2 separate regions of the Homo sapiens genome follow, and region 2 is linked to region 1. The links are contacts of gene promoters, found by promoter capture Hi-C in human tissues and cell types (Jung and others, 2019). All regions are on one chromosome and are shown on one strand. Each heading gives the region's core, a stretch centred on a gene start or on the middle of the fragment in contact. The rest is flanking DNA. Distances are from core to core; before and after follow the strand shown. Region 1 holds the start of DIAPH2 (diaphanous related formin 2). Region 2 has its middle 34 kb from the start of DIAPH2.

Evidence for each region. The method cuts DNA at HindIII sites, captures the fragments that hold promoters and counts their contacts. A contact is called where the count stands out against the background at its distance.
Region 2: a fragment that was not itself captured here is called in contact with the fragment with the promoter of DIAPH2 in region 1 in 2 of the 25 tissues and cell types used here (hippocampus and stomach).

Annotation. Positions count from the first base shown.
Region 1 is chrX:96,683,352-96,687,994 of GRCh38, forward strand. It overlaps DIAPH2 (diaphanous related formin 2), which reads left to right and starts at 1,491. Exons shown (of 27, transcript NM_006729.5): 1 at 1,491-1,839. The coding sequence starts at 1,708. RefSeq lists enhancers at 1,279-1,994, 1,995-2,708. The HindIII fragment of the contact is 18,479 bases long and covers 1-4,643 here.
Region 2 is chrX:96,648,110-96,652,657 of GRCh38, forward strand. No RefSeq gene overlaps it. Among named protein-coding and RNA genes, the nearest start is that of DIAPH2, 34 kb to the right of the region's middle. The HindIII fragment of the contact is 7,113 bases long and covers 1-4,548 here.

The DNA of each region.
Region 1 (4,643 bases), core at 241-2,740:
GTAATCCCAGCTACTTGGGAGGCTGAGGCAGGAGAATCGCTTGAACCCGGGAGGTGGAGATTGCGGTGAGCTGAGATTGCACCTTTGCACTCCAGCCTGGGCAACAAGAGGGAAACTCTGTCTCAGAATTAAAAAAAAAAGAAAGTTAATGACAATGACAAAGCTAGAATTAAAGCTGTTTTCAGATATCTGGTGTTCTTTTCATTCTACTGCCCAAGTTAGCTGTCTCCTTGCACCTATAGCATGGTCAAATGCATCCTAATGCACTCTCAATAAATATGTTCAGATACAAATTCCATTCAGCATATTAAATTTAGGCCGAAGGGGAGAAGGTCAAAAGGAGTCATAGTCTGGAGATATCTTCAGTAATAGGTGTATGGCATGTTTATAGATTTCATATTTAAATTTACTTTATAGGTAGCTTTCCTAGCATATGTGCTCCTATTCTATGATGGTGGTTCATTCAAATCCTACCCACCCCGTCTAATGTTCTCAGTGTGTACCTTTACTTTTAAAGGGCATCATTTAAAGAGGATGGAAGAAATACAGTGTGGGTACTATATTTTGTCCTGAGGACAAAATGCTAGGTATGACGCAAGGACTTAAGACTATCGTCCCAACAGTGCCCTGCTGCTGCACAAAAACACCTAGCATTTGTCTAGGGATTTTCATTTACAACAAAGCTTTGACACACATGATCTTATTCACTCCCCACAACAACTCTAAACTAGTTCGGGAACCTGAAAATAGCACTCAATTCAATTGCTAGCTGTATGTAAGTGTTTTGGTTATAGAACCTAACAATCCCCTAGGGATTAAGCGGTGGGCGCCTGCTGCTTCAACAACCCTGCAGCAAGGGAATAAAGGAACAACTGTATTTCTTCGGTCACAACGTAATCACGACAACAGAAAGCACTCACTCTTTCCACTCTGACCCACACACAGTCTGTCGAGGCAATTAATCAGCACTCCCGGTGGTTTTCCTATAGGATGCCAGTTCCCTTGCCAATCAAGTCTTTCCACAGACTGTAGCAGGACCACACCCCCGGAGAGGCCTCAGGGAGGGAAGGTGCTGTGGCCCACAGAAGTGAAAGCTGATACTCAGGTTGACCCGCCAGTGAAACTTACAGGCGGATCTTCCCGGGCCTCAGTTTCCCCATCTCTAAAATGGGCTACCCTTCCTTTCTCTTGACTAGTTCCCTCCCTGTTCTCGCTGGGCCACTAGGAAGTGAAATCAGTGCCTAACCGCAGCTGAAAGTGCTCTGTTAGGCTCCAGTCACCGCGCCGGGCATGCTCAGTAGCTGGGGCCGGCTCGGCTGCGGGAGTAGGAAGCAGCTTTGCGCGCCCGGGCGGCCGATGCGGGCACTTTGAAGAATCACGTGTGTTGAGGCCCTCTTAAAGAGATAGGCACCTACTTTTCCCTCCACCCTAAACACCGCCCTGAGGGCGGCGGCGACCGTGGTAATTGCAACTGCTCAGGGGCAGGGCTTGCCCCAGCGCCGAGTAGTGGCAACGGCGTGGTTGCGTCGGGGGTGCCTGGGAGCCTGGAGTCCCGGGGGCCTGAAATCGGCAGCTTCCCGGGCAGACACTCTCTCCCTCAGGAAGAGGTGCCGCCGAGTCAGCGCGGGGCAGTGTGAGCGCCCCGAGGTGCTTTCTCAGTTGAGGAGAGGTGGGGTTACAGGGCACAGGTGACAGGGCCGGAGAAAGATGGAGCAGCCCGGGGCGGCGGCGTCGGGAGCGGGAGGCGGCAGCGAGGAACCCGGTGGGGGCCGGAGCAACAAGCGGAGCGCGGGGAACCGGGCCGCCAATGAAGAGGAAACGAAAAACAAACCCAAATTGGTGAGTGCTCCCGCAGCCCCCGCCGGCCTTAGGGACAGGGAGAGCCCCGGGATCCTCCTGCCATTGAACACGGGGGCACCCGGGGCCCCCTCCCAAGGATGACCGCGACCTCGCTGTGCAACTCGGGGAGCCGCTAAAGGAGTGGCCACGCCGAGGCGCGGAGACGGCGTGGGGGCGGAAGAGCACCCCCTTCTCTACTTAACCCCTTTCTCACTCTTGTCAGCCCGGGAGGCGGTGCGGGAAGGAGAAAGGCCCAGCCCCAACTTGGGGACACCCCGAGTACTGGGTAGGGCTGTTGTTTGTCTAACTTGTGGGCGCAAACCTTTGCGCGATTCCATTCTCCTCCCACTTCTTGTTAGTTGCTGTTTTGCCTCCTAACGCGTAGGGTCCGGGGCAGGGGAACCTCCCTCCTTTTTATTCCAAGTCCTTGGGAGCCCACCTACAGCTTCGCAAATCAAGAAGAACACTATTTATGCTCCCAGTCTTTCTACTTTACCAGAAATCTCAGGAAGAGGCGCCTACGTGCCTTTTTCCTCCTCCTTGCCTCTCTCCATGTGCTCTCCCAAGAAATGTTTCTTTGGAAGGGTGGGGGCGCGTGGGAGTTTGAGGCTGGGTGAGGTACCACCAACTGTCGAGTGTGTGTAATAGGCATAGTCATACAGTACTTCCACTTAGTTGATTAAGAACGCTCAAAAGCAGTAGGCACAAACTGTGCAAATCTCACCGTGCTGATAGTGTGAACCGATGGTAGCAGTCCATTTCCTGCCACTGAATGTGCAGAGGAATGAAATCGATGAGGCCTGGTATTGCATTGGGAAATACTGGAGTTTCCTCAGCTCATCAGAAGGGTTCCGCTTTTTGTAAACTTTCTAATTTGGGTGGTGTGAGGGGAAAGGGTTTTCCTGTACAAATTCAGCAGATACTCCTTAGAGCTGTATTCTTAGTCCAGATCCGAAGCACAAGCCACATGTTGAATGTATAGATTTCAGCTTTAACTACCAACTTGATTATAATAGACAAGGAGAGGGTGACATATAAATAAAGCCGTTTCTTATGGCATCTGGCCATTTGGTTTGGATCCAGTACAAAACTGTGGTTTAATCAGTGATTAAAAATTTAAGTAAAAAGTTAACTGATAGTTTCCACAAATGGTTTGGTACGTCTAGCAAGAATCTGCCACTTTTAAGAAGTATGCTTTCGAGAAAAAAAAAAACACTTATCTCTGTTAGTAGTAACACCTTGATTATATTCTTCTCTTCCCTTTAGCCATTTGTCCTGATTCATCTTTTATGTTTTACTTGCTTTGACAAGGTAACTAGATAGTTATGAGATCGTATCATTTTCAGTTCCTAGCTAACTTCACTGTTCCGGTTCCTAGCTAACTTCACTGTTCCGTGTTGAACATAGCTTGATACGGTAGAACAAGATTTGAATCCAAGAGTTTGTTAATATTAACATGAATTTTCTTTTTTTGCTCAAACATAACTTTTGAGCCTTACGTGATTTTACAAGCAGATGTGTCAGAGTTAACAAAAACAAATTTAGGAAGACATTGTGGCACATTTTAAGGCAAGCAAGTTGACCAAACAGTAAGATTTAGTAAGCTTTTCAGGAAAGAATTCATCTGGGATTCTTAGAAGTTTGCTAGTAAGATACAACTTTACTTAGATGAAATTTTTTTATTTTGAGTATTATGTTAATAATCTCTGAACTAGTCCTTAATTTGTGTGTGTATATGAGTGTAAAGGAGTTGTGGTATGGGATTATAAAAGAGAGCCATATGGTGATAGAAATTATTTGTGTAGGTGATCTTGGGGCATAGGGGTTCTTAAACTCCTGAAATTGTATGAAAATATTTGAGTGTATATGGGTACATTTATTTTTCTGGGCCCCATGGCTTTCATCAGTTTTTCAAAGGCATCCATTACCTATAGAAGAGTAAGAACTATGGCATTACAAAAGATAGAAAGTAAAGGAAAGAATAGTTGATTCCACTCTAAGTTACTGAGTAGGGAAGAAGGGGAAATGGCATTGACCACACAGGTGATTGATATTGAAACGAATTCTTCTAGTGGTAAAAAAGAAGTTAACTACTCAATGTCTACATAGATTAAAATTTCCGCTACAGAGGAAAATTAATTCAGTCGCTCCAGTATAATGGATTCATAAGGTATAAGGCTTGTGTAGTTTGGTTGTTTTCATTTAGTTCCTCAGAATTCTGGAAAAATGGAAATGGAACACATATTTTCTTTTCTTTTTTTTTTTTTGGGACGAAGTCTCGCTCTGTTGCCATGGCTGGAGTCCAGTGGCGCGATCTTGGCTCACTGCAACCTCTGCCTCCCGGGTTCAAGTGATTCTCCTGCCTCAGCCTCCTGAGTAGCTGGGATTACAGGCACGTGCCACCACACCCAGCTAATTTTTGTATTTTTAGTAGAGACGGGATTTCACCATGTTGGTCAGCCTGGAAAGCAGATTTTCTATAGAGAGGAACTGCTTTCATTTATATCCTCAACTTTTTAATGAGTATTAGTGAGAAATTTTTCAGAGTGGCATTTCAACACTATAATGATTTCTATTTAAGATTACTTAAATAAAAATTTAATGGAATTCACTTCAGTTTTTTTCATATAAGCATCCTCATAATGACCCTTTTGTTTTGATTCTTTTAAAATAAGGCATTCCTGTCTTGGACTCATCACATTTTGAATAATGCATTAGTAGTAGAGTTTTGGATTTTATGTAACTATTTTGGTTAGGCCCAGATTGCAACATGTCATCAAACAGCATGAATCTTAGATTAATTT
Region 2 (4,548 bases), core at 1,065-3,564, 34 kb before region 1:
AAAGCTTATATTTCCACATGGTACCTAGCAGTGCCTTTCCTATAGCAATGACTTTAAAATTGCGTGGAACGAATGAATTTCCCCTTTCCTCAATTGCCAGGGAAATTCCCTACATGAAACCTACTTGTATTAGTAACAAGAGAAGCTTTCATCCTAGCACATACCTTGGTTTCTTTCTCTGTGCCCATGCCTATCTCTATTCCTATGTAAATCCCTATGTCTAGCTCTCTCTGTGCCTCTGTCTGTTTTCTCCATCATTGACTTTGTCTTCTCACCTCCTTCCCTCCTCTATCTGGCACTGTCAATCTGTCTTTTAGTGTCTTTTTCAGTCTTTTCCTTGTTGCTGTAGGTATGTCTTTAACTTTATCCCTGCTTTCTCTTCTACTGTCTGTCCATTTCTGTTTCTTGTTTCTCTGACACCTACCCCTTCTAACATGGAGGTCAAACTCTGAAGCTCTTTCAAAGCCCTGCTTAAACTGAAACTGATAAGAGAGTGTTCTTGGGTCTTTTCAAGTTGGAACTCAAAGAGAAGCCTTGAAAATCAACATTCCAGGGACAGGTGATGTCCAGTGCCTATGGTAGAGGGTATGAATTGGAATGTTCAGACACTCTGAATGCTTAATTTACATGATAAGGCATAAAGATATAAAAGGTGACCCACAACAGCTAATCAAAATAACAATGCTAATTTCTCTAACTCTGGCTTCAAAGATAAGGACGTGTTAGAGAGCAAACAAAAAATTCTTGAAAATCATTGGCCACTTTGGCACCTTGCCCAGGAGACTCTAAGGATTCATATATAAGTATAAATGAATTGAAACTAAACACAATAATAATGCCAACAATTTTTTCGGTGCTCACTGTGAGACAAATGTCTTACATATATTAACTTATTTAATCCCAATGCAACATTTTGCGGGAGGAAAACTGAGGTTGAGGGTGGCCAATTAATTCCATGGTCAGCCATCTCCAAGAGGGGGAGCTAGGATTTGAATTCAGGTGTAGTCTGATTCCAAACCCTGGGCCCCTAATCACTCCAGCACTTCTCAAACTTGTCAGCTCTTAGGAATCCTTTGAATGCTCATTAAACCTTCAGAATCCTGAGCCCTGTCCTAAACCTACAAAATCCCAGGGGAAAGATCTGGGAGTCCAGTGTTGAGCAAATGACCCAAGTGATTCTATTTGTCAGAACTATTTGAGAACCAGTGCACTAAATAGCTTCCTTAACCACGATGTAAAGGAGGGGAGAGTTAGATTTTCCTGGTAGTTACTAGCATTACTTGACCCAGCTTCTTCCATTCAGTCCTTTGCTAGCCTCTCCTTTCCAGAGAATCAAAATCAGCCTTAGATTCTTTGTTTAATCTATAGTTTCAATGTACAATGGGAACATTTGAATTTTGAACTGAATTTCAACCAAGTCAGCAAAGAGATAGCACTTTATTGGTGGAATGGAAGTGAATAGAAGAGTATGCTGTGTTCATGTGGGGACTGGGGGAACGAAGGGGTTGGTATTTTCCTGATACTCTTAGAAATCATGCTATGTGGATGATTGACTATTTCATCCTTTTAAAGCTCAGCCTTTATTATAAAAAGAATTTTTCTTTTAATGAATAGAATAGATCTGGTACTAATAATGGTAAACACCAAGAAAATATACATGCTGAAAATACAAAATGACAATGACTTACATATAAAGTATTGACTGTCAGACCCTATACTAAGTGTTTTGCATGAATCTTCTCCTTGAATATCACAACATACTTGTGAAGTAGTTACTTTAATGATCTGTATTTTACAAATGATGAGACTGAGGTTCATAGAAATTCCTTGTCCAAGATCTAAGAGTCCGACCCAGGTTTGTTTGACGTATTACGAGAGAAACTTGAAATACATTAAATTTAACAGAATTTAATTGAGCAAATAATGATTCATGAATCAGGCAGTCACTCTCCCCACCCCTTGCCCCCTTCTCTGCAACCGGAATAGGTTCAGAGAGACTCTAGCTCACTGCCACATGGTTGGGGGTAATTTATGCACAAAAGAAGTAAAGTGATGTACAGAAAATGAAAGTGAGATACAGAAACAGCTGTATTGGTAAGAGTGTCTTATTACACTGCACAGAGTTTGAACAGTTGGCCGCCTTTGATTGGCTGAACCTTGGAGATTGGTACAAGAATAGGTTATACATCCAGTTAGGTTACAGTTCACTATGTATGGAGAAAACTTTAGGCTGAACTTAAAAGGAGGAAGCTTTAGGCTAAACTTAACAGACTGCAGTTTGTGCCCTTAACACTTTGCTGCACACCCTCCACTTCAAATAGGTCAAAGAAAGATTTGGGTAAATTCAGTGATTATAGATTCCTAATGAGATATGAAAAGATGTTTTGGGATATTGAGGGTGTTTTGAAAAATATTTTGAGGTTAATTACTTTGAACAGAAGCACAGGGTTCTCCCACAAAGATTTATTTTAGTATCACTTCTAAAGAGATGCTGATATGATCCAGTATGGCATTTCTTGTGTTTTTATCTTCTTTGGTTTATTAGCAACCAATTTCTTTAGTAAGTGAGGGTACCATTTGGATCACCTATTTTGAATTCACAATGAATTCAGAACCCTTTTCTGAATCCTCAGAACCCAAAATCTCCCAAATTTATAGATGTTAAGATATATACATATATGTGTATGTATATATATATGTATATATATGTGTGTGTATGTGTATAAATATATATATATATTCCTTTAATCAAAGATTCGCCCGAAGTAGAGTGATGAAACAAGAGGAATATGAAGACATTCTTTTCCTTTCTTGAATTTTCTCATTTCTGAAATTTTTCTCCCTATTATGCAAAGAGAGATCATAGTGATGTGGAATATGATAAAAATGCCTCTCACCTAGAAGTACAAGGTATTTGTTTTGGTTTTGTTTCTTTGTTTGAGACAGGGTCTCGCTCTGTTGCCCAAGTTGAAGTGGAGTGACACCATCACTGTTCACTACAGCCTTGGCCTCCTGGGCTCAGGGGATCGCCCTGCCTCAGCCTCCTGAGCAGCTAGAAAAACAGACACACTCCACCACGTCAAGCTAATTTTCTTTTTATTTTTTGTAGATACGGGGTTTTGCCACGTTGCCAGGCTGGTCTCAAAATCATGGGCTCAAGGAACCTCCCACTTCTGATTCCCAAAGCAATGGGATTACAGGCATGAGCCACCAGACCCAGCCTATGGTGATATATACATATATTGAGCCCAGGACATACATATATATATATATTATGTTGACAATTCTTTTCAGCTCATAAAGCTCTACCAAAATTATATATTCTTAAATAAAAGCCTAAGAGCTTTCAAATGTCTGAGTACTTATAATTTCCAAATTTAGAATTCTTTTCCTCTACCCAAACTGTACAAATAAAGATAAATCAGAATTTTGAAAAAACTTCAGCTGTCAAAAAACAAGTGATTATCAAAATTGCTAAACTACTGCATTAATCATTAATTGATTTATACAACTTAGTGACTTTACAAGGGAAGGTGAACATTTTTTAACACATGCCTAATGTTGACTAATCAATCCTCCTTCTGCAAAATTGCTTTTAAAAAATCAACATACAAATTTAATCATTATAAATTCAATCAGTAAAGAATGGCTGCCCCTCTTTCCCACATTTTGATTCCCAGGATACAATCACTTTCAAATATTTTGGGTTTTAGTTCTTCTGTTAACTCACATGTTAAGCTAATATCACTTTTTCTGTAACAAAACCCATATACCTATCATCCAACTACACAAATTATGAACATTTTGTCAATCATGCTTCATCTAGACACACCACCCTCCCATTTTTTCCTGAAGCTCCTTTATGTTTCTGTTTTTTTCTCCCTTCTAACCAGTCTCTGGAGCAGAGGCCAAGTATAACTTCTAGCTGTACTGTCCAGCCCCTTTTTCCTTGCTCACTGTCTAGAAACTCTACCCTCCTGTGTTGTTTGCAGAGGAAACAATTTCGATTGCTGGGAACATAGTAGAGAAAGTAGAGTCTATAACATTAAGCTACGTTTTTTCATAAACAGCATAGATTAGTTTTATGTTTTTGGTACGATTGACATACAATGAACTGCACACATTTAAACTGTACATTTTGAAAATTCTAAAATAAATACATACCTGTGAAACCACCACAATTGAAGTATTGAATACATTCATTACTGCAAAATGTTTTCTCATTGTCATCCTGCCTCTCCCCATACCCTGTCCCCAATCTGGAAACCACTGATCTTCTTTCTGACACTATAGACTAATTTGCATTTTCTATAGTTTTAAATAAATGGAATCAGGCAATAAGTACTCTTTTAGTCTGGATTCTTTCACTCATAATTATTTTGAGATTCATTCATATTGTTGTGTGGATCCATAGTTCTTTCATTTTGGTTTCTGAGTAGTTGTCCACTGAATGGATATACAACCATGTGTTTATTCATTCACTTCTTTATGTATATTTGAGTTGTTTTCAGTTTTGTCTATTACAAATAAATCTGTTATGGACATTCA